Regions from separate parts of the Homo sapiens genome. Here regions 1, 2, 3, 5 and 6 are each linked to region 4. The links are contacts of gene promoters, found by promoter capture Hi-C in blood cells and fetal thymus (Javierre and others, 2016). All regions are on one chromosome and are shown on one strand. The core of a region is centred on a gene start or on the middle of the fragment in contact, and the rest is flanking DNA. Distances in the headings are between cores, read along the strand shown.

Region 1 (2,700 bases), core at 163-2,662, 320 kb before region 4:
GAGGGCTAATTAGCACAGGGAGCCTGGCTCTGGTGAAGGATGACATGTTTGGTGTATGCAGGGTGGCAGCTGAAAGTTACTAATACTGCCACATACCCCCACTGTGCTTCTGTTACCCCAGTTCTCCCAGAGTCATGATGAAAATAATAACACCACACAGCACTTTACAGTCTATAAAGTGCCTGGCTATGTATGCATTACACACATCACCTCATTATATCCTCTTTTAAAGCCTGTAAGATCAGTTTTACTCCTGCAACTCAATTTCATAGAAGAGGAAACTGAGGTCAGAGTTGAAGATCTTGCCCAAGGTCACACAACTGTTGAGTCCAGAGCTAAATCTCAATGTGGGGTCTTGGTTCCAAATTCCACACTAGTTCAACACACCCAGCTCACACCATGCAGGCACACTGAGGATGCAGGGATCTGATATGATCTTCACATGTAGAGTGCAGAAAGGTATTACAGAAAAAGCTGGGGATCGGCAGACCCAACTTCCTGCCTTGGCTCTGCCCCTGAAGAGCTGTGTGCCCAAAGGTGTGTCTCCTCAGCACTTTGGGCCTCAGTCTTCTCATCTGATGAGTGAGAAGGTTGGAGTAGCTCAGTCATTCTCAGCTCTTTTTAGGGTCTTAAATAGTTGGCAACCACTTGAAATTCAGCTATAGACTCTTCCTTCAGAAAAATGCACACATGATACACACATACACAAGTGATCTCACTAAGGATTTTTTTTTTTTTTGAGACAGAATTTTGCTCTCATCACCCAGGCTGGAGTGCAATGGCGTGATCTTGACTCACTGCAACCTCCGCCTCCCGGGTTCAAGCGATTCTCCTGCCTCAGCCTCCAGAGTAGCTGAGATTACAGGTGCCCGCCACCATGCCTGGCTAATTTTTGTATTTTCAGTAGAGACGGGGTTTCACCATCTTGGCCAGGCTGGTCTCAAACTCCTGACCTCAAGTGATCTACCCACTTTGGCCTCCCAAAGTGCTGGGATTACAAGTGTGAGCCACAGCGCCAAGCCTCACTAAGAATTTTAATACATTCATGGATCCCAGTAAGACTAGATGGCTTGGGCTAGTTGATTTTTAAGGTCTGCTTATACTCTAAAATTCTATCATACATCCTCTTTCTGCAAGCATATTAATTTATATCTGCTTATAGTCTCATATGTATGTATACACTTAAGTAGTAGGACACTATTTACATTTGTAACAGAAACAATTTATGTTTTGGGAAATCAAAAGAAAAGTTTTACTGGGCTAAGGTCTGAAGTGTGGCTTTAGAAGTAGAGGATAGTGTGTCTAGAACAGTGCTGTTTAGTACTCACAAATAACAATTAATTTAAAAATGATGCTGGGCGCGATGGCTCACACCTGTAATCCCAGCACCTTGGGAGGCTGAGACAAGCAGATCACCTGAGGTCAGAAGTTCAAGACCAGCCTGGCCAACATGGCGAAAACCCATCTCTACTAAAAATACAAAAATTAGCCAGGTTAGGTGGCAGGGGCCTGTAATCCCAGCTATTCAGGAGGCTGAGGCAGGAGAATTGCTTGATTTGTAACCGGGAGGCGGAGGTTGCGGTGAGCCGAGATGTAGTCATTGCTCCCCAGCCTGGGCAACAAGAGCGAAAATCCGTCTCAAAACAACAACAACAACAAAAAGAATTTATTATAAGCATGAATTTCATTTGTCTCCTGTTTATGCAATGACTAAAAGTGGTATGTTATTAGGAATAGTCACTGATGGTGACACAGAAATAGAAGTTGGACATTTCTTGTCTGAGAAATAATACCTTAAAATGGGTTAATTTAATCCAATTAGTTTTCAGATAGAAATTATTTAATTACTAATGACTTCTGGCTTGTCAGGTTTTGCTGGGTTTTCTCATAGTCTAACCCCAATTTAGCTAATCAAGACCCTCTTTTTAAAAATGCCACTTTGCAATGATTTCAGAAACAGAAATAATTAAACACTTGAGTTACCCAAGAATAACCTTAATAAGAAATGAATAGAAACTACAAGAAGAAAATTAGAGAATCTTTAAAAAAGACTTGAGTGAATGGAGATATAGTTCTTATTCCTGAATGAAGAGACTGCATATTGTGAAGAAGTCAACTCTTCCCAGACCATTCTATAGATTTAATATAATTCAAATCAGCATTGCAGAGGGATTCATTTAGGAATTTAATAAATTTTTTATAGTTATTCTGGAAAAATAAACTGGGAGGAGAAGCTAAGGAAGCTAAAGAAGGCAATATGAGATGTTAGAACCTACTGTAAAACCAGAATAATGGAATACTATGCGAGCGGTGGAAAAACCAATAGTTCAATGCAAGAGAAATGATAGTCCAGAAGGAGATCTTAAGAATTCATTATCTGTTAAAAATATGGGGAAAGGAAAGATTATGAAATAGACAAGAATAAGGGGGGATATCTGAAGTTAGATTTGCACCTTGCAACTATACCAAAATACATTTCTGAAGAGCATATAATTAAATGTAAAAAATGAACTCCAAAAACATTTTTAAAAGTCAGTATTTCATGATTTTGGTATAAAGTCTTTCTAAGTATAAAATAATTAGAAGTTACAAGGGAAGAGGTTAATAGTTTTCATTGCATAAATTTTTAAACTGTACATTAAAAACCCTTAAAAATTAACAAGCAGATTAAAAGCTAGGACAAAATATTGGCATAAATGC
Region 2 (2,700 bases), core at 189-2,688, 390 kb before region 4:
CGCGGGAAGGGGACGTGGAGGGAAACGGAAGGGCTGGGAGTGGGGTAGGGGGGCAGTGGCGACCTCCGGGGGGGGAGGGTGGCGGACACCAGACCCCAGGGCCGACAGCCCGGGAGGGACCGGGTTCCAGGACCCCAGCTGCACAAAGCCGGCCCGGGGAGGGGGCGATAAGGAGCGAGCCTCGGGTCGGCCCGGCACCGCTGCTTCGGCTCAGAGTCCTTGCAATCGCTTGGCCTACGAACAACCTAAATGAAATTTAGGGTTTTATTGAAAAAGTCCCCTGGGGCCTAATTTAGCCTCTCGACTCCAGCCTATATGCTTACAAGTCCTCAGGGGACTCCGGCTAGGAAGTCAGGAGTGGGGCCCGTGCGTCCCCGGCAGGACCTAGACTGCCTCTCGGCGCAGGCGGCCCTAACAAAGAAGCCCACGAGGCGGTCCCGGGCGCGGGCAGGGGCGGTGCGGCGGCGCTCGGGAGACCCGCGAGGGGCCCTGGAGGTCCTCGGCCCGCGCGCGCCGCTCGGGAGCCCGCGAGGCTGCGGTGTGCTCCAGCGGGCGCATTTCCCAGGCCCCGCCACATCGTGTGTGTTAGTGGCTGGGAAGGACACGAGGACAGAGATGAGGATTGTTCGTGGCAGGAAAGAGTAAAAATAAATCAATGCATAAACAAAAAGGATGCCCCAGAAAACCTGTGCTTTTCAGACACACACACACATACACACACACTCACTCACTCACTCACTCTGAATTGGGTCAAGTAAAAAAAAATTTTTTTTAAAGGAAGGAATCTTTAGCCCAACTGGGATTTCGACGAAATTGTATATATCAAAAGATAGCTACATCCAACCTCTCACCAGAATCCAGAGGCTTTCTCCTGCAAAGATACTATTGAAAGTTTTATTAGTAAGTTTGAGAAGGCGAAAGTATGTATCAGAGGTGAAAGCTAACATGACAATTGCTTGGCCAAAGAGCGCAGCAGTTTTATGTTATTGAGCAGCACAGGATGAATCGAACACCCACGATGGCTAGACAGAGGCGCCTGGCTGTGACTCCCAGAGGTTCAGGCAAGCCATCTGACCTCTCTCAGTCCCCACCCCCTGAAATGAAAACCATACTCATAAGACTCCTTGACAATGGAAATTTTGGAGGTGACATAGTTAATGAAGTGTCATAGAAAGGAAATAGCTAAGAATACTCTAAAACCTCCCCATTCCCAGTATGGGCAATTTGGGAAAAATGAGTAACTAAAAATTAGGGGTTCTCAAAGTGTGGTTCCAGGATCAAATGCATTAGTCCCCACCTGGGAGCTTGTTAGAAATGCAAATTCCCAGGCTCCCCTCTAGGCCTCCTGAATTAGAACTTTTGGGGGTGTTTTAACAAGCTCTCCAGGTGGTTACGATGTCCCATAGAGAATCATTGGGGCAAATAATCCTGTGCCCTGATTAGATTGCAAAGCTGCACTTTCAAAAGCAAGTCAGGGTGCTGAGTTGCTTAGTTTCTATTGCAAAATTTCCTGCTTTGGAACAAAATTTTCAAAATTTTCAGAGGGTTGCTCAGGCCAGTGATGTTTGCAATGCAAACCCAAGAATTCTGAAAGGAGCCCATGGCTGAAAGGAGCCAATTCTTCCAGGACGGACTACTCCAGTTGCAACTGTGCTGTGGAGGCTGAGGAGCATCCATGACTGAGGAAGGGCGAGTCCCCTATAATGCCCTTGCTAAGGGGAGCATCAGACATCCCTAGACTTACAAGTCCCTCGTGTAATAAGGTGAACTATGGAAAGCTATGATTTGAGGAAAGTTCCCTCTGATTGAAAGAGTTCTTCAAATATGAAGAATGTAACACTTATGGGGCACCTACTCATTGCAAAACACTCTACTAGGGGCTTTCACCTGTATGTTTAACTCATTTTGTTGATTTTTTTTTTTTAAGCCCAAATTTCTGAGAGGTTAAGGAACTTGTCTGGTGGTGGCGTCTCTGGGATTCTGACTTTTCCACTGACCATAACATGCATCTGGTCTAAATTGAGCGGACCACCCAGGAGGATGTTGGAATAAAAAGAAATGGGAAGGGGGTGGGGAGAGGAATGGGCATAGAATAAAAAGGTAGAAACCCTTGGGATCAAAGGATGCAACTGAAAGAGCACCAAAATATGCATCATTTTTTTTAATATGTTGTCTGGTACCCAAAATTGGGATGCCTCTGTGGTATCAACTTTGACATTTAAAGAAAGGGCATAAGATTAGATCATTCAACCATAAGTGGAAGGAAGAAACAAAATAAAATAAAACCTTACAATTCCCTTTGAAGTTGATCAGGTGTCAAGGCAGTGATTTGGTTTTCTTTTACAAACTTTCTTTTTCCAGAAAAATTTTTACTGTGGGTTTGGAGAGGTGTTTACAATAAATTCATAGCAGAGCTCCAAAAGGGCCCACCCCATCTAATATCCTCTGTCTCAGCAGATTATTGAAGAAGATTGGATTAAAAGGTTTGTTTTGTGATGTGTGATGGTTGTGTCCCCAAGATGATTGAGTTTGAGGCAGAGTTCATCAATTTAGGAGGCTTATCACTGAAGCAGCAATAACTTGGGGCCCAATGCGAAGGCTGCTAAATGGGTCCAGCAAAGCTCTTGGTTCAGCTTCTAGAAAGGAACAGTGTACATTGGGGGAACCCCACAGGCCTGGGTAGAAACTCAGCTCCACCAT
Region 3 (2,700 bases), core at 134-2,633, 450 kb before region 4:
GGCCCGGACAGCATTTACACACTTTAGATATTCAGTGACAATGTTTAAATCCTAAACAACAGCTTATTTGTAGCAGAAGGGGATTAGTGGAAGGGAAGAGCCTGCTTTGAGAGCCCTTGCTACACCAGGATCAATATTGACTTCTTGTGAGAGGGGGAGATCATATCCTGTTCCAGTAGGAAACACATTGCCTCTAATACTCTTAACACAGGGAGAGACCCAAACTATACACTTGGTGTGGAATTTTAAAAGGAAACATTTTTAAAATATTAGCAGGTAGGAAACAGATATTGAGGTACTAAAACAAGTCAGACAAGGAGATAGTGGGGGAGACAACTGGTAAGGAGCTAAAACTGAAATAAATAATGTGAAGCGAAATAATAGTTACTGTAACCCAACTGAACGTGGGTCCATTCACCCAGCATACAGAAACAAACACAAGCACCAGGATTTGCAGTGACAGAAAGGGAAGCATTGATTGCAGGGTGCCAAGCAAGGAGAACTGGGCAGCTAATGCTTAAGACCCTAACTCCCCAATGGCTTTCAGGCAAGGGTTTTAAAATTTTATTTATTTTATTGTTATTTGAAACAGGGTCTTGCTCTGTCACCCAGGCTGGAGTGCATTGATCCTGGCTCACTGCAGCCTTGTCCTCCCAGGCTCAAGCGATCCTGCCTACTCAGCCTCCTAAGTAGCTGGAACTACAGGCGTGCACCATCACCACACCTGGTTAATTTTTGTATTTTTATTTTCTAGACATGGGTTCTCACTATGTTGTCCAGGCTGGTCTCAAACTCCTGGGCTCAAGCAGTCCTCCTGCCTCGGCCTCCCAGAATGCTGGAATTACAGGTGTGAACCACCATGCCTAAATGGGTTTTTAAAATTTGAGATAGGGTCACACCATGTTGCCCAGGCTGGTCTTGAACTCCTAGTCTCAAGTGATCCTCCCACCTTGGCCTCCTGAAATTCTGGATTACAGGAGTGAGCCAACAGACTTGGCCCAAGCAAGGGTTTTTAAAGGCAGGGGTATATTTCAGGAAAGCAGAAGGTATAGGAAAGATAATAAATCAATACATGGAGGTTATACCTTGGTTTGGCCTCAAAAGGCAGGATATCTTGACACAGGGGCTTACAGGCCACAGGTGGATTCAGAGATTCTTTGGTTTGCAGTTGGTTAAGGGAGCAAGGCTTTGTCTAAAAACTTGGGTCAGCAGAAAGAAATATTAAGGTTCTAAGCTAAAAAGTATCTGAGACAATTTAGAAAATTTATTTTGCCAGGGTTAAGGACATGCCCGTGACACAGCCTCAGGGGCTCCTGACAACATGTGCCCAAGGTGGTCAGGGCACAGCCTGGTTTTATACATTTTAGGGAGACATGAGACATCAATTCATTTATGTCAGATGTACATTGGTTCAGTCCGGAAAGGCGAGACAACTCAAAGTCTATATCCAGGTCATAGGTAGATAGGAGACATTCTTTTGAGTTTCTGATTAGCCTTTTACTGAATCAAAGGAAGCAATCAGATATGTATTTGTCTCAAGTGAGCAGAGGAATCACTTTGAGTTCTGTCTGTCCTTTGTCCACAAGGAATTTCCTTGTGGGTAAATTGTGAGGGAGCTATGTAGTTTTTTTTTTTTTTCTTTTTTTATCTGGTGTCTAGGCAAAGTGGCTCACTTCTGTAATCCCAGCACTTTTGGAGGCTAAGGCGGGTAGATCACTTGAGGTCAGGAGTTCAAGACCAGCCTGGCCAACATGGTGAAACCCCATCTCTGCTAAAAATACAAAAAACTAGCTGGGCATGGTGGCACATGCCTGTAATCCCAGCTACTCAGGAGGTTGAGGCAGGAGAATTGCTTGAACCCAGGAGGTGAAGGTTGCAGTGAGCTGAGATCATGCCACTGCACTCCAGCCTGGGTGACAGAATGAGACTCTGTCTCTTAAAAAAACAAAATCTTTATAGCTATCTTATTTAGGTATAGAATGGGAGGCAGGTTTGTCCAATGCAGTTCCCAGCTTGACTTTTCCCTTTGGCTTAGTGATTTGGGGGTCCTAAGATTTATTTTCCTTTCATGAGGTTTAACCCGTGTGTGTGATTCTCTGCAGGCCCCTCAGGAAGAAATTTAGAACAGGGAATGGTGGTCAGAATTCAGTCCTCAGTTCCCGCTTAGCTGAGGTCTGTGTGACAGTGGTCAGCATTTTCCATCTGGTGGAGGTCCTGGTTTCTGAGAAACAACTCAAGAACTTATGTGAAGACGTTGTCTTTAGTTTCTATAGGGAACCGAACGTCTTGTAACTCTGTCTTATTTGGGTGACTATTATTTAAACTATTATTATCTTCTCGCTTAGCGGGACTGAAGGATAGCAAGGTGCTTGGAATTTCCCTTGAAGGAACTCAAGAGTTTTTATTTCCGTGCTTGAGGTGGCTAGCAGGTCCCTAAGAGTGTTCCTTGCTCTGTCTCCATGCCAGAAGTTTATTATGGGGTGAAAAGAGGAAGTTAAGGACAGGAGGCAAGACCTACTGAAGGCTCAAAAACTGACAGAGGAGGAAGTATGGATGTGGAAGTGAAAGAAGTCCACAGAGCTCATCACAAGATGAAGGTGGTCCCAGGCATCAGAGTTGATTATCTAATGAAATAAAGGAGAAGAAAGTCATACTGTTTTATAACAGGGAAACGTCGGCAGGTAGGAGCCATCATCCCCA
Region 4 (2,868 bases), core at 270-2,769:
TCCTCGCCAACTGGACTGTTCCTTTTTCATCTCCTTTGAAGGATCGCCTCCTTCAGAAATACACTGAATCTTGTGTTTCCCAAAGTTCCTGCCATTGTTCTTCTCTTTTCCTGCTATACGTGCTTTGCCAATTTCATCCACTCTGAAATTTCAGCCATCTGCAATGTCTATACCCGCAACCCAGACCTCTGGCTAAACTCTAGTCCTATACATCCAAATGACTACCAGACATCCCTTCAGAATGGACCATAAATACACCCATTAAACGTCGCATGTCCAAAACCAAACATCTTCCCTCCAAAACCTAAATTGGCTAGTAACACCATTTTCCAAGCCAGAAAACTGGAAGTCATCCCTGATTTCTCTCAGTCCCCCCTGTCTACTCAATGGACTCCTTAATATATTTTGAAAATGGTCTCCTATCTCCATCTCTACCCACTACTCACCTACTTGAAGCCCTTCAACATCTTCTGCTGAGTATTCTGTAACATCTTCACCGACCTCCCTCCACCCAGTCTTGGTCTCAAACCTATCTTTCGTATGGTCATGATGACATCACACCCTCGTTTATAATCCTTTGATAGTTTCTCTTCTCCTATGTCATAGGGCTTATGCTTCTGAGCGTGGCAGATAAGGCCCTCCACGTCCTAATGCCTTGCCTCTCTCACCAGCCTCTTCTTCCACCACTTTACGTCCTGAGCTTTCTGTTTCAACAGCACCAAAACACTCATGATTCCCTGCTCATGCCCTGTGTTTTGTACCTTCATCCTCCATCCATGGAGCCCTCAGGTTCTTGCAGGGGAGGGGCAGTAAACCAGATGGTTGTCACTTCAATGTTTAGCCCAGCATCTGGCTCCTAAGCGGTGCCATGTGGCCAGTCAGTGATAAATGATGGGAGACAGTATATGGTATGTCCAAAAGGAGTGACAGAAAGTGTGGAGGGAATTTGGACTCACATTGATAGTCACTGCAATGGGGCCTAAACATGCTAAGCACCTTCCACACGAGAGGTATAGAGAGCCAGCAAAAGCTCGACTCTTCCATCTAACAAGCACCACAAACCTAGAGTCATGCTCTACTTTTTTGGAGAAAACATGTTGGCTTCCCACTGAGCCTGCCATCATGAGGCACAATAGTGGGCATCTTGGTGGTTTGCTAATAATAACAGCTGATATTTATAGAAGGCTCACTGTGGATCCAGAACTTTACTGAAAATTCTACAAGAACTGTATCTCTCAGTCCTCACATCAACACTATGAGGAAGGAACTACTGTTACCCCTGCTTTACAGGTGGGGAAATGAGGCCCAGATACCAAGTAGCTGTACTAAAAGCACAGAGATTTAACCTCCTGGACCTTATTCACCAGAACGCAAGCCAAACCTCCATATACATTTTACTTACTTCCCAAAATTTTATGTGTACATCAAGAGCTGATCATAAATAGAAGGTCAAAGTGACCTATTGTGACATCAAATCTTGGAGCCACTTTAATGTGACTTCACTAAATTGCCTTCGTCCAGTGCCTCACAGACAGCATCCCAGCACATCATGGAGAGCTAAGTGACAGAACAGGCAGCTCCTCTTCTCCCTGGTGAGGCCCCTTCTGCTGTGCCCTGGCTCTCTTTTGCCCCTCATTTGTCCATATTCCTCTCTGGTTTGCTCCAAACTCCTCCTCCTACCTTCAATTAAGATGGTGCTTTAGAACAATACAAGGTAAGATCTCTTCTTCATAAAAACAGAGAACTCATCACACCTCAGGAGGTGCAGAAGCCAAAAATACTCATAGGTTTGAGAAGAGTTTAGATACAGTCACAGATGAGCGAAGATGAGGGCAGTATGGAGCTCAGAGAAGAACCATGTGCTGAGGAACAACCTGCAGGGCTAAAAATCAACTAAGTCCATGGATATGTATGGAGCACCTGCAATATCCAAAGTACTATTTCAGACCCAGCAGCACCCCTGCCTTTAAGGAGCCCCAAGCTCTGACCACTACTTGGGTTCTGTTAGGGAATGTCAGCTCAGAGCTCCCCATGGGCAATGGGATCTTTGCAGCAGGAGTATCCTTCTAACACCAAGGACTTGGAGCTCTTGGAAAGCACTCTGTGTGTCAAAAAAGGGTGCACCCACACAGGCTATCCCCACACAAAGGCAGCTGCAGTGGTCCTCTAGATGTGTGCTCAAGCCCAGAGAAGACTTTGACTGTGGCAATTTGGGAGGGAAACAAATAAAGTAGACAGTATATCTTCACAACAACCATCGCTAGTGGGCCACATGCAGGGCAAGAGAAAGAACTAACACCCCAGCAAGCCAGAAGCGTCTCCCTGTCCTTGAGGTCAGGGCAGAGTGGAGAGACCCAGGCAGGGAGTAAATGGAACAAGTAACAACTAGGTGTGAACCTTCAAGATTTCCCTTCCATCACGCTCCACTAGCATAGGTAGTCTTCCGAAGACCTAAATCCACTGGTCTCCTTCTAGGACCAACATCGAGAGGTCATCAGAGTCGTAGTCACACAGCCTCAGGAGCAATAATGTCCAGGTTTGAATCCCTGTTCCACCATTCATTAACTGTGACAAATCAACAAAACTCTCGGGGGACTCAGTAGCCTCATCTTTTAAATGGAAACAATAATTAGACGAGCCTCAGAAGGTCATTGTGAAAACTGAAAGAGATGATAACATGCAAAGCATTTAAAAGTGTCTCACACTCAGAAAATGTGAGCTGTTAGTATTATCACTTTTTTCCATCAGTGGGACCATGGAAGCCCCCTTCTAGGCCATGACAAATTGTGGACCCCACGTAGATGCTATATGCAGGAATAACTTAGAACACAAGTTGTCCCGTTTGAAGGTCAAACCAAAATTCTACAA
Region 5 (2,700 bases), core at 29-2,528, 410 kb before region 4:
TCAGTATGGTGAGGGCCATTCATGACTCTTGAGTTTTGACAAGAGGTGATATCTGGAAGATTAATAAGTGTTTAGTTTAAGAAAACATTCAGTAAGCTTGTTCTGTATTCCTACACAAAGAGTATAGCAGTAATGTATTCCACAAGAGTAAAGCAAAATAAGTAAAGTTATTCCAAGCAAGCTAAATTAGAAGGCTTTCCATCAACTGTGCAACTGTTGAAACCAAGCTGATATGGGGTTGGCAGCTGATTGCAATGTGCCCAGAATTAGAATACTGATCCAGACTTTTACATTACCCATCCCTCTTGTTTCCTCTGAGCAGCAGTTAGAGATCACTGGTTAGTTCACAGGAATAAACAGGGTTAGCTTAAATTGCAGAAACAAACTTAAAAACAACTAGTGAGACTAGAATTTAATAACAAGTGTACCATAGTTCTTGAAACATAATAGTTCTCGCTCCAGTTTCCCATTTTTACTAAAGACGAATTATGGTAAGACTGATTTGCTTTATTATACTTGGCCTGATTATTTGTATAAAGTACAGCAAGGATAATTATTTTTCACACAGGCATTTTAATTGGCTTTGATGGAACTCTGTTTCATAAGGAATCTCAGATAAGACTTTTTAAAAAGCCGAGCCCTGCCATGGGTTTGTACCCTGAAATACCTATGAGTTAGGTAAATTCCTGTCCTTTTGAGGTCCCAAGATAACTTGGGGCTCCTGGACCTGTGAGAAAGTGAAATTCTTTACTTACCATAGGTCAGAAACCCTATACAGGGACTGTGTAGGCAAGGTATGAGGCCAGTTCCCCAAAGGGTTTTTATTGGCTCTACAAGTCAAGTTTGATTCCTTAAAGGAAAGCACACCATTCCAGTCAAAGCCTTGGTAAAATGACCCATTTCTCCAATTGTGTCCTGTTACAAAAGAAAACAGATTCGTATTGCATTTATGCAAATAAGTATATTGCCATAAGTTAAGAATACTCACAACTAATTTCCAAATTCTGAAGTCAGGTTAGAGAGAAACAAATATGTTCCAAATTTTGTTCACAGCAGTATGCTTTACTCAATTGCTACAAGCTATAAATAGCTCAAAAGAAAAGTTTCCTTGACTCTGAAAAACAAAGCAAAGCATGCTTCTCTGTTCCAAGTGTGCGGAGTCAAAGTATCCCTCCATAACTACTATTAGCCATCCCTTAAAGTATATTTCCTACCTAGTTATTTCACAGCAAAGCTGTCTCAAAATGCAAAGTAATTTCTGATACCCCCCAAACTCAAAACCATCAGATAACACAATACAAAACAGAACAGAGCATTTGATTTTGAGAGGGATCCATCTGCTTTTAATTCCTGGGGTTTCAAGATAAAAACAGGTTTTTTCCCAAAACGGAGTCTGTGACACCTCCTTTGTTTTTCCCAATGAGTCTGTGACACCTCCTTTGTTTTTCCCAAGGAGTCCCAGGCTACCAGAAGTTATCTTAGGGCCTCTCGTGTGTTCATTAAGAGTGGCAAGACAGAAAAAAAAAAAAAAAAAAAAAAGGAGAAAAATAATTCAGTTGACTGAGAAGAAAAAACCTTTTTCCAGAAAAACAAGTTCCAAAAAGAGAAAATCATTAATGGCCTTTTAAATATATCTATTGCTTGTTTATCTACTTTTAATTAAGCTGACTTCTAACCATAGTGTTCTTTAAAAAAGAAATACTTTTGGATCTCTTATTACCTGACTTTAACAATGCCAAGCGGCCAATATTTCTAGCTTCTGAACTCTACCAGAGATAACCTCCTAGGTGCTTAGTGAAAGGAAAATTTAAGACAGTCCATGGAGAAGAAGAGAATAGACAAGGTCATGCAGATATGAAACCAGAAATGGTAGGCGGGGAAATCGAACCCTGGCTACCAATATGAAAGTGCACGATCTTAGCTACTGAGCTATAGCAAAGCGTGGTCTCCAGTTCCTTTCCCAGGAAGAGTCTAGAGTAGTTAATTTTGAGCTTGCAAAGGCTTTTAACTATTTAATATGATTTTTAGAGCTATGACATGAATCCTAAAATTCCTATTTCCTGGAAGGTGGAGACCACGGGAAGGTACCACCACATGGTTAAAAGGTCAAGCTCCCAAGGACATAAAACAAGGTGGAGATTTCATCCAGTTTTTTGTTTGTTTCAGGGACCTGCAGCCAAGTTTATTACTGACCAGCTTGTGAGGTCATCCTGAAAAGCGGGCTTACAGGTATTCTAAGCCCATGTTTTATCCTAAAGTACCCCTTTACACAGAAAAACGAATTCATGGCACAAAATACACCAGCTTAAGACTAGCCTTAGAATTCTTTTTGGCATTAATCAAAACTTTACAGAGGACATAAACACTGATTTTTTCCCCCCATTCATTTAACTATTTGCACACAGAGACAGAAGCCAGAAATCTGACTGGGAAGAAATTCCTACCCTTTTGCCAGCATGCTAAGCTTCTGGGTTCTCTTTCCCTGAGGGGCCCTAGTGATCTGGCTTGTGGCACAACTGCCTTTGGGGGCCAAGCCGCATCATAAAGGAAAAGTATTTCTTTTTGTTCTGGCCAAAGCAAAATACGCGTAATAAAACATAGATATTAACCAGGCTGCTTAGCATCCAATATCAAACTGGCAAGGCTTAAATTTGCCCTCAGGTGGGCCCTGTCATCTTTAATCTAACCTCCGACTAGGAG
Region 6 (2,700 bases), core at 153-2,652, 340 kb before region 4:
TCACTATGTTGCCCGGGCTGGTCTTAAACTTCTGGCCTCAACCAGTCCTCCCACCTCAGCCTCCCAAAGTGCTAGGATTACAGGTGTGAGCCACTGTGCTGGGACTGACTTTTTGATCAAGCTGGCATGGTGAAACTAATATTAACAGTTTACATGGACACAAAGATAAAAGTGTTAGCTGATATATATATGTAGAAAAGTGGCTTTCCCCACTTTAACAGGGCTCTTAGGAGGGCAATAGACATGCTAAATGGAGGTGGGCCTTCCTGGTGCCCCTTTTGGTTGTCCTGTAATGAATGGCAAAGTTCAGCCAAGGATCAACTGCAAACTGAGCTTCTTTACTGCCGAGGAGCTGGCCAGAGCTAGTGGTGTGCGCACCCAGAACCTGCAATGTCTATGGGTGAGGCTTCACTTAAGACAGGAGGCCTCTGATGTCAACCCCACAGCTCTGAGCTGCTGGAACATCTTTGGGGCTCAATTTGGGAATCACCTTTCACCTAAAAATATTTTTTCCCTCCATCTTTCAGATGGAGATTTGCAACATTCAAAGTAGAGCCTTACAATTGTATTTGCTGCCCTTTCCTATGCTCCAAATTTGGCTTTAGGCTGCCTATTTTCAGTGTTTGGGAACCTCAAAAAAGGAGCAATGCATAAAACTTCCAGCTGATAGGAATCCTTCCCCAGGGCTTGTCATTTAGCTGCAGCTCCAGCAGGCATTTTGAATGAAGGGGAAAAAAGGACATACAGCCTCGCTAAGTACAGGGGCCTTAAAGAAAACACGGTTCTTAAAGCCCTTTTGTCCTCTGTCTATCTGTAGCACAGGATAATGAAAATGGATACGTGTTGCCTGTTGTTCCTATGTAAATGCTACCTCGAGGACACAGTCTTCACCAGGCAGATGGCTAATTTCTTTGCTCTAACCTCATTTCTCCAGTATTCCGGTGTTCCTGTGACGTCCTGCTCCTGGAGTCAGGTCCTAATTGTTGTCAAGCGTTCAGAGACAAAAGTGGTGTCTACACATCATTCATGTGAAGGCTGTTACTGGCTATGAACTGTAGTTGTGGTGGCAGCAGCAGTGACTGCAGTGGCTGCAACACAAACCTTATGGCAGGTAGTACCTGCTGGTGTGGGGCTGCTCAGAACCTGCCTTTCTGCTTCCAAGTGTCAAGCTGAACATTTTCCTTTGTTATCGCTTCCAGCCCCTGGACTCCAACGTGCTGAAAGCCCTGTGTCTTTCTGTTGGGATCAATACCCGCTTCTTTAACTGTTCCTCTCTGGTTCAGACTGTCTCTCGGCATCATTCTGACCATGCAAATCTGGGGATGCCCAAGAGAGGGCTCATTTGTCTTGTCACAGATTTGGGGGGTGCTGGTTAACTTGTGGCCCCTTGGAAACCCCACTGCCACCGAGCAGTCAGGTAATCCTAATAGCCAGGACCCTCCCAGTCAGCGATTGGCCGTCTGATTGGATGCACATTCATCTTCAAGTTATGTTGTGTGACAGCCCGGGCTGCTGAACACCATTTTAACATGCAGATTGACTCCTCGGAGGCTCTTCATTACGCATTTAGCGGTCTGTTTTCAGACTAACCAGCATGTCAGAGAGGCCCGCTATCCTCTTTCCACCTGGGTGGAGGAAATAGCTCACTGACTGTGGGGGAGCCACAGATATTAAAATGCATATGTTTACCTTCCTGAGCATCCGCACACAACAGCTTTCTCTGATGCAAGAGAAGAAAAAAGAAGAAAGGACCCTTGGTTCTGAAATGCAAGGAAAATGGCTAGCAAAACAAGCGAGCCTTTGTTGATGAGAGCAGTCAACAAGGCCAGGCCCGCCTGATGCCGCCCAGCTGCCCGCAAGCCGACCTGGGAGCGTCCACACAAGCACTCCTCTTATCGACACACAGACCCTCTCTTTCTCTCTCACACAGAGCCTGAAGCATTTTAAGCAGAACACTTCCAATTTCCTGTTTCTAAAACCATCTTGCCTCTCCAGTGGCATTCCAAGCGATCCTGGCGAGGCACGGGATGAGGGAGAATGGTGTTGGTTTAGGTGGCTTCCACTGCAGGGCTCTGGGCTTACTTGCGAGGCTCCAGGCCCCTTCTTTACCCACCCCTCTTCTCTCCCTGCTGTGATTGACTTCCACTTGCTAAAAATACTTCCCTATGGCCTCTCGTTGTTCCTGCATGAGTGCTGATGTTTTCTTGTGCGCGTGTGTGGGTCGCCTTTCTCAAGAATCTCTTTCCATTCCTTAAAAAGAAACATTTGTATTGCTTTTAATACAATTCTCATCTCTTCCCACTTAGTCCCCCAATGTACTATTCTCTCCATTCTTCTGAAGGACCAATTAAACTGGAAGGGTACTCAGTTCTTTGGGCCTTTGCTATGCGCTACGCCTTGGCCAAGTCTGCAGCCCCTGCCCTCATCTCCGATCACTCTCTTGCTTCATTTCTTTGTTGTCACCAGAGAAAGATCCTGGAGAGGTTTAGAAGGCTAGCTTGGTTCTCACAAGTGGGAGCTAATGTGTGCACGTGGACATGGAGTGTGGAATGATAGACATTGGAGACGAGGAGGGGTGGGAGGGTGGAAAGAAGGTAGATGATGGGAAATCTCTGAATGGTACTATGTACATACCTTATTCGGGTGATGTATACACTAAAAGCCCAGATTTCATCATCACACAACATAGCTGTATAACAA

Evidence for each region. Contacts are between HindIII fragments. The CHiCAGO score rates a contact against its expected background, and 5 or more counts as called.
Region 1: a fragment that was not itself captured here is called in contact with the fragment with the promoter of MAML3-AS1 in region 4 in 1 of 17 cell types (neutrophils); the score reaches 5.5 in neutrophils.
Region 2: a contact is called between a fragment that was not itself captured here and the fragment with the promoter of MAML3-AS1 in region 4, in 7 of 17 cell types (M2 macrophages, neutrophils, M1 macrophages and 4 more). The highest score is 7.9, in M2 macrophages.
Region 3: a fragment that was not itself captured here is called in contact with the fragment with the promoter of MAML3-AS1 in region 4 in 1 of 17 cell types (neutrophils); the score reaches 5.1 in neutrophils.
Region 5: a fragment that was not itself captured here is called in contact with the fragment with the promoter of MAML3-AS1 in region 4 in 1 of 17 cell types (neutrophils); the score reaches 5.2 in neutrophils.
Region 6: a contact is called between a fragment that was not itself captured here and the fragment with the promoter of MAML3-AS1 in region 4, in 1 of 17 cell types (neutrophils). The highest score is 5.5, in neutrophils.

The regions. Positions count from the first base shown.
Region 1 is chr4:139,803,545-139,806,244 of GRCh38, forward strand. All of the region lies in intron 2 of MAML3 (mastermind like transcriptional coactivator 3), which reads right to left. Among named protein-coding and RNA genes, the nearest start is that of MGST2, 140 kb to the left of the region's middle. The HindIII fragment of the contact is 9,936 bases long and covers 1-2,700 here.
Region 2 is chr4:139,735,403-139,738,102 of GRCh38, forward strand. The region is part of intron 2 of MAML3 (mastermind like transcriptional coactivator 3); the gene reads right to left. It also overlaps a transcript of MGST2 not described here. Among named protein-coding and RNA genes, the nearest start is that of MGST2, 71 kb to the left of the region's middle. The HindIII fragment of the contact is 4,202 bases long and covers 1-2,700 here.
Region 3 is chr4:139,672,845-139,675,544 of GRCh38, forward strand. The region is part of intron 1 of MGST2 (microsomal glutathione S-transferase 2); the gene reads left to right. Among named protein-coding and RNA genes, the nearest start is that of MGST2, 8.4 kb to the left of the region's middle. The HindIII fragment of the contact is 7,308 bases long and covers 1-2,700 here.
Region 4 is chr4:140,126,496-140,129,363 of GRCh38, forward strand. MAML3-AS1 (MAML3 antisense RNA 1) reads left to right here and starts at 1,520. Exons shown (of 5, transcript NR_147610.1): 1 at 1,520-1,592. The region is part of intron 1 of MAML3 (mastermind like transcriptional coactivator 3); the gene reads right to left. The HindIII fragment of the contact is 9,535 bases long and covers 1-2,868 here.
Region 5 is chr4:139,711,959-139,714,658 of GRCh38, forward strand. It overlaps a transcript of MGST2 not described here. Among named protein-coding and RNA genes, the nearest start is that of MGST2, 47 kb to the left of the region's middle. RefSeq lists an enhancer at 1-361. The HindIII fragment of the contact is 2,368 bases long and covers 95-2,462 here.
Region 6 is chr4:139,782,362-139,785,061 of GRCh38, forward strand. The region is part of intron 2 of MAML3 (mastermind like transcriptional coactivator 3); the gene reads right to left. It overlaps LOC124900782 (a long non-coding RNA gene), which reads right to left. Exons shown (of 2, transcript XR_007058277.1): 2 at 1-2,700. Among named protein-coding and RNA genes, the nearest start is that of MGST2, 120 kb to the left of the region's middle. The HindIII fragment of the contact is 4,083 bases long and covers 1-2,700 here.